Linked DNA regions of Homo sapiens: region 2 is linked to region 1. The links are contacts of gene promoters, found by promoter capture Hi-C in blood cells and fetal thymus (Javierre and others, 2016). All regions are on one chromosome and are shown on one strand. Each heading gives the region's core, a stretch centred on a gene start or on the middle of the fragment in contact. The rest is flanking DNA. Distances are from core to core; before and after follow the strand shown. Region 1 holds the start of BATF3 (basic leucine zipper ATF-like transcription factor 3). Region 2 overlaps DTL (denticleless E3 ubiquitin protein ligase adapter).

Evidence for each region. The method cuts DNA at HindIII sites, captures the fragments that hold promoters and counts their contacts. A CHiCAGO score of 5 or more calls a contact.
Region 2: a contact is called between a fragment that was not itself captured here and the fragment with the promoter of BATF3 in region 1, in 1 of 17 cell types (M2 macrophages). The highest score is 6.7, in M2 macrophages.

The regions. Positions count from the first base shown.
Region 1 is chr1:212,698,234-212,701,175 of GRCh38, reverse strand. It overlaps BATF3 (basic leucine zipper ATF-like transcription factor 3), which reads left to right and starts at 1,336. Exons shown (of 3, transcript NM_018664.3): 1 at 1,336-1,503. The coding sequence starts at 1,414. RefSeq lists silencers at 1,319-1,398, 1,589-2,038. The HindIII fragment of the contact is 2,939 bases long and covers 91-2,942 here.
Region 2 is chr1:212,062,938-212,065,948 of GRCh38, reverse strand. DTL (denticleless E3 ubiquitin protein ligase adapter) reads right to left here. Exons shown (of 15, transcript NM_016448.4): 6 at 3,000-3,011; 7 at 920-1,032. Among named protein-coding and RNA genes, the nearest start is that of MIR3122, 13 kb to the left of the region's middle. The HindIII fragment of the contact is 6,737 bases long and covers 1-3,011 here.

The DNA of each region.
Region 1 (2,942 bases), core at 87-2,586:
GCCGAAGCTTCTGATCACACAGACAAGAATCTCCGCTCGCTTTCCCGCTGGCCTCCAGGCAGCCAAGTTCACTCAAGCTCTCTCAAAGCTTTTGCAAGAGTGGGTCTTAAATCCTGGCGGGGGGCACGTGCACTCATTTAAGACTTAAAAAGGAATCGGAAATGACTGTCCCCATGCCCACTGCTGCCCACAAACCTGAAGACCCAAGCGACCACACTTGGTAGGCACTTCTGCCCTTCTGGTCTGGTTCCCACCCGCCCATCCCGAATCGCGGTTATCTTTCCCGGTGCTCACAGCATGCAGACCACAGCCTGTGGCCGCTAGTGTTTCCTTCGCTAGGACCACGGGTAATTGTCTTGGCTTCGCATCTTTTGACTGGCAGGCAGGTGGACAGGGACTTGCCCTACCTCAACCCGGTCCCCAGCTTGGCACGAGCAGATAAATCTTGAAAAAGAAAAATGATCTGGGCCGTTTAACCGTGGCATGGCGGGTCCAGATCCCCAAACCTGTCACTAGTGACGTCCCACGTGGCAGATTCGCTCTCAGGGAAGCCCGTCACCGTTTTTGTCCGGGACATCCTCCCCATGCCCACCCTCCGCTCCGGGAATTCACCCTCGGGGCCGCCCCGCCTCGTTCCCTCCCACAGCCCGGCGGACCCGAGACGGGAAGGGCAGGCACTCCCTGCAGAGTCCCTGGGGCGCCCGTGGCTCGGGGTGCGCGGTGGGACTCGGTGAAGCCGGCGTCTTCACCCCAGAGCCGCGGCTTCGGGGCCGCTGGAGGAGCGAGAGTGGCGCCCGGATGACTGATCGCCGCGGAGAAAGTCCCCCGGGACTGTGACCCCCGCGCCGGGGGGCGGACGCAGGGCGTGGCTGAGGCGCAGGAAGATGCCGCGATGGGACCGGGAAAAAACACCGACCCCAAAACACCCACTGTGTTTCTCAACCTGAGTTCCCCGGCAGCCGCCGAAGGACCCCAAAGGCTGCATGGCGCCCCCCTGGTCCCCACCCCCCCGGGCGTCGCCTCGCGTGGGTGGGCTTCGCGTTCCCTCCGGGGTTTCAGAGCCACCACGTGACTTCCACGAAGCGCGGGGCGCCGGCGGAAAGCCGCGGCAGGGGTGGGATTTGGGACCCCGAGGTGCGGAGAGAGGGCGGGCAGAGGAGGAAACGAGGCGGGGGTGGGAGAAGGAGGGCGGGGCAGACGTGGGACGGGAAGGACGGCTGCCGGGACTGGCGCGCGGGGACACTGGGCCGACGCGTGGAGTAGCGGGGAGAGCGGGAAGCCTGAGGGGGCGGGGCCGGCGCGAGGCCGTGGGTGCGGCACGAGGATGCCGGCGGCGGGACAGCGCCCGTAGGCAGCCCCACGGGCAGGGCGCGCGGGCGGGGCGGGGCGGGCCGGGCCAGAGGAGCGCCCGGCATGTCGCAAGGGCTCCCGGCCGCCGGCAGCGTCCTGCAGAGGAGCGTCGCGGCGCCCGGGAACCAGCCGCAGCCGCAGCCGCAGCAGCAGGTAGAGGGCGAGAGGCTCAGGGAGGGCCGTGGGGTGCGGGGACCGGCGCGCCGCGGGGGGCGAGGAGGTGGGTGCTGGAGTTCCGTGGTGGTGACTGCGGAGGTGCAGAGGTGGCGGGTGCGGCCGGAGACAAGCAGAGGTAGGGGCGTAGGGATGTTGGGGAATGGGGGCGATCCAGGGACCCTGTCGTGCGCACAGTGTCCGCGGCTCCTGGAATGGCTCCTGAGCCAGCTCCTGCGCCCTCTGGGGGAAGAAGCCCGAGGGCGCCGACGCCTGGCTGGGCCGGGCATGGCCGGTGCTCCCCGGCACGTGGGCTCCGCACTGCCCTGAGGGCCGCCCCATCCTGGCGCAGCCAGCGACTGCCACCCCACCACCCGCGCCTGTAGCCCCTCCAGGATTCCCCCGGGTGGGGGGGGTGCTGCCGCGGGAATGGAGAACGCCGGACTAGTCAGCCTGGGCGGAGGGAACCCACAAAGGGCCGACTCCGCCCCCAGCTGGTGGAAACCCTTTGCCCCTTCCCAGTTCGCTGTCCCCTAGCAACGTTTACAGCGGCGCAGTCAGGAAGGAGACCAGGTTGGCCACAGGGACGGCCGTCTGGAAACTTTGCCTGGGTCTTGGCCACCTGCCTTACGACGAAGACTGGGTCTTTTCATCCTTACTCCCCACCTTCCCAATTCAGCGCCCGGCCCATGTCATCAGGTGTCGCTGGAGTGTCACAGAGATCTGAGTTTGGGCCTGGGCTTTGCCACACACAGGCTGAGCAGCCTTGAGCAATTTGTTTAACCTCTCGGACCGTCCATTTCCCCATCTGTAAAATGAATATAGTAACATCAACCTCTCAGGATTTTTGAGACTGAATCAGATATGGTTAATAACATAATACTATCTCTAACTTTCGCTCACCTCTTTCTGTCTTGATTAAATGTTTCTGCTGGGTTGGCAGGTGTGATCATGGTGATGAGTCCAGTTTAGAGTCAGCTCCCCGAGGGCAGTATGCAGGCTGCTTTCTTGTGCTAGTGACTTTTTGATTACAGAGAGCAAAGAGGCATGAGAAGCACTATGCAGAATACATTTTTTTTTAAAGTAGCAACTTCAACAAAGGCAGGTAACTTCTTGAGGGCATACTGTATGCTGGGAGCTTTAGGACAAAATCTCATTTCATCGCATCCCAATCCTAAGCATTAGGCTGTTAGCACCAAGTCTGCAGAGTTCACTGACCCTTTGTTTAGGGCTTGTATCCCCAGTGTCTAGAACAGTGTCTGGCACATGGTAGGTGCTCAGTTAATACATATTGAAAGAATGAATGAATTATGCTTACAATAAATGAGAAAACTGAAAATTTAGAGAATTTAAACCATTTACACAAGACCATGTTGACACTAAGAGACAAAACTAGGATCTGTGTGATTCTAAAGCTAAAGAGCTGTCTTCTAACCACA
Region 2 (3,011 bases), core at 404-2,903, 640 kb after region 1:
AGGCTCACGAGGTCAGGAGATTGAGGCTATCCTGGCTAACACGGTGAAACCCCGTCTCTACTAAAAAAACAAAAAATTAGCTGGGCGTGGTGGTGGGCACCTGTAGTCCCAGCTACTTGGGAGGCTGAGGCAGGAGAATGGTGTGAACCTGGGAGGCGGTGCTTGCAGTGAGCCAAGATTGCGCCACTGCACTCCAGCCTGGGTGACAGAGCGAGACTCTGTCTCAAAACAAAAAACATATTTTTCTGTAGTTTGTATTACGAAAACAACAGGTATTCTTTCCCCTTAGAAAACTGCATCACAGTACTTAATATGCTTCTTCAAACTACTCCTCCCCCACTTTTCCTAATGAATTCCACTATACTATAGGGGTGTGTTTGTGTGTGTGTGTTTGTGTCTGTGTGTGTAGAGAGATTTTTAGGGATGAGTAAGGTGAATTTTCAACATGTGCCTCAGGCAACTCTGATGCACACAGTATTTGAAGTGATGGCTATCTCAATTACCCTGATTTGATCATTATACATAGTGTACCCCCCAAAATATGTAAAATTATGTTATCAATTTTTTAAAATGTAGATATTGAAATTGTAAAAAAAAAAACCACTTTCTGCTTAATGGCATGAGACAACATCTTATGTTTAATTCAATCTAATTCTTTAAAACCAAAATAAATTTAAAGATATTTATCAACGAGGCTACATATATTTTAATTCCATCAATAATATAGGTAAATGGCATTATAATTCAGAAGAACCAAAAATTAAAATTTGAGAACCACAAATGTAGGTACTGAATAAGCAATAAACCACTGATATCAAATGAGAATCATGAAGATTCTCATTCACTTAATCAATAGCCTCCCATTTATTCTATCCTACAGATAAGATCTGCACACATGTATACATCTGTAAAACCTTACCACAGAAGGAGCAAGTCCTTTTGAATTCTGTTTCTTCTTGGGTTTTGAAGGGGTTTGCTTGTCTGAGGTATTGTGAGCTCCACTGATTTGATTCACTTGCCTATAAAACCCATCTGAAAGATATTCCAAGGAAATTTAGGTTTCAGGATTCTTACATGCTGAATATAACATGTGTAAATAAAACTTCAATATTAAGTAATTTTTGACCAAGTTGGTGAAATTAGAAGCCAGCAGAGCCAGCTGCACTACATCTCCTGTGGTGAGACTATAATGTATAAAAAGGGAGAGATGTTTATAACAGCTTTAATAATTGCCAAAACTTGGAAACAACCAAGATGTCCTTCAGTAGGTGAATGGATAAACTTTGGTTCATCCAGACAATGGAATATTATTCAGCACTGGAAAGAAATGAGCTTGATAAAGCCATAAAATGACATGGAGGAAATGTGACTGGGGGAAGTAATAAGATCAGTGGTTGCCAGGGCTTAGAGGGAGGTAGGGATGAATAACTGGAGCACAGAGGATTTCTAGAGTAGTGAAACTATTGTGTATGATGCTACAATGGTGGACGCACGTCATTACACATTTGTCAATATCCACAGAATGTGTAATACTAAGAATATATAACACTGATGTAAATTATAAACTCTGAGTGACAGCATGTGTTGACATAGGTTAACTGATTATAACAAATGTACCACTCAGGCACAGGATGTTGTCAGTGGGGAAGTCTGTGTGTGGGCAGGGCAGGGGCTATATGGGAACTCTCTGTACTTTCTGCTCAGTTTTGCTGTGAACCTAAAACTGCTCTACAAAATAAGGTTTATTAAAATTTTTCTAAATAATTTTATTATTTATTTCAAAATAGCTAGAAGAATGGGAGGCTGAGGCAGGCAGATTGCCTGAGGTCAGGAGTTCCAGATCAGCCTGGCCAACATGGTGAAATCCTGTCTGTACTAAAAATACATAACTAGCTGGGAGTGGTGGCATGCACCTGTAATCCCAGCTACTTGAGAGGCTGAGGTAGGAGAATTACTTGAACCCAGGAGGCGGAGGTTGCAGCGAGATGAGATCACGCCACTGCACTCCAGCCTGGGTGACAGAGTGAGACTCCGTCTCCAAAAAAAAAAAAAACAAGAAACAAAAAACCAGAAGAGAAGAATTGTAATGTTCCCAACACAAAGAAAAGATAAATGTTTGAGGTGATGGATATCCCAATTATCCTGATTTGATCATTTCATGTTCTATATATGTATCAAGATATCACATATACCCCTGAAAATATGTAGAACTATGTTACCAATTTTTTAAAATGCAGACACAAAAAAAAATTTTAATAAATTAACTAAAAGTGAACAGTGAGATAATCATCGTCTGCTTAATAGCATCATGAGACAACCATGAGCTTATGTTTAATTCAATCTAATTCTTTAAAATCAGGCTGGGCCTGGTGACTCACGCCTGTAATTTCAGCACTTTGGGAGGCCAGGGTGGGCAGATCACTTGAGGTCAGGAGTTTGAGACCAGCCTGGCCAACATAGTGAAACCCCATTTCTATTAAAAAAATACAAAAATTAGCCAGGCATGGTGGCGGGTGGCTGTAATCCCAGCTACTCAGGAGGCTGAGCTAGAGGAATTGCTGGAACCCAGCGGGTGGGGAGTGCAGTGAGCCAAGTTCACGCCACTGCACTCCAGCCTGGGTGACAGAGACTCCATCTCAAAAAAAAAAAAAATAATAATAATAAAATAAAAAAAATTCTTAAAAACCAAAATAAAGACATTTACCAGTGAGGCTGCGTATTAATATTTTTAAGTCCATCAATAATGTGGGTAAATGGCATTATAATTCAGAAGACAATATGAGATAAATACATGAGTGTAATACTTGTAACAGTGACACTCATGTATTTATCACTCAGGACACTCAGTGAAGATCCTGAGATCTGGAACAGTGAGCAGAAATGGGAAATTATGAGTACATGCCCCCTGGTGGTAATCAGATGAAATCACTAACTCTTTCACTCAAAATTAAGTACAGGGTAATCCCAAATCTCTCAAAATTAAAATAGATCTAGATAACCTTTTTTGTTGC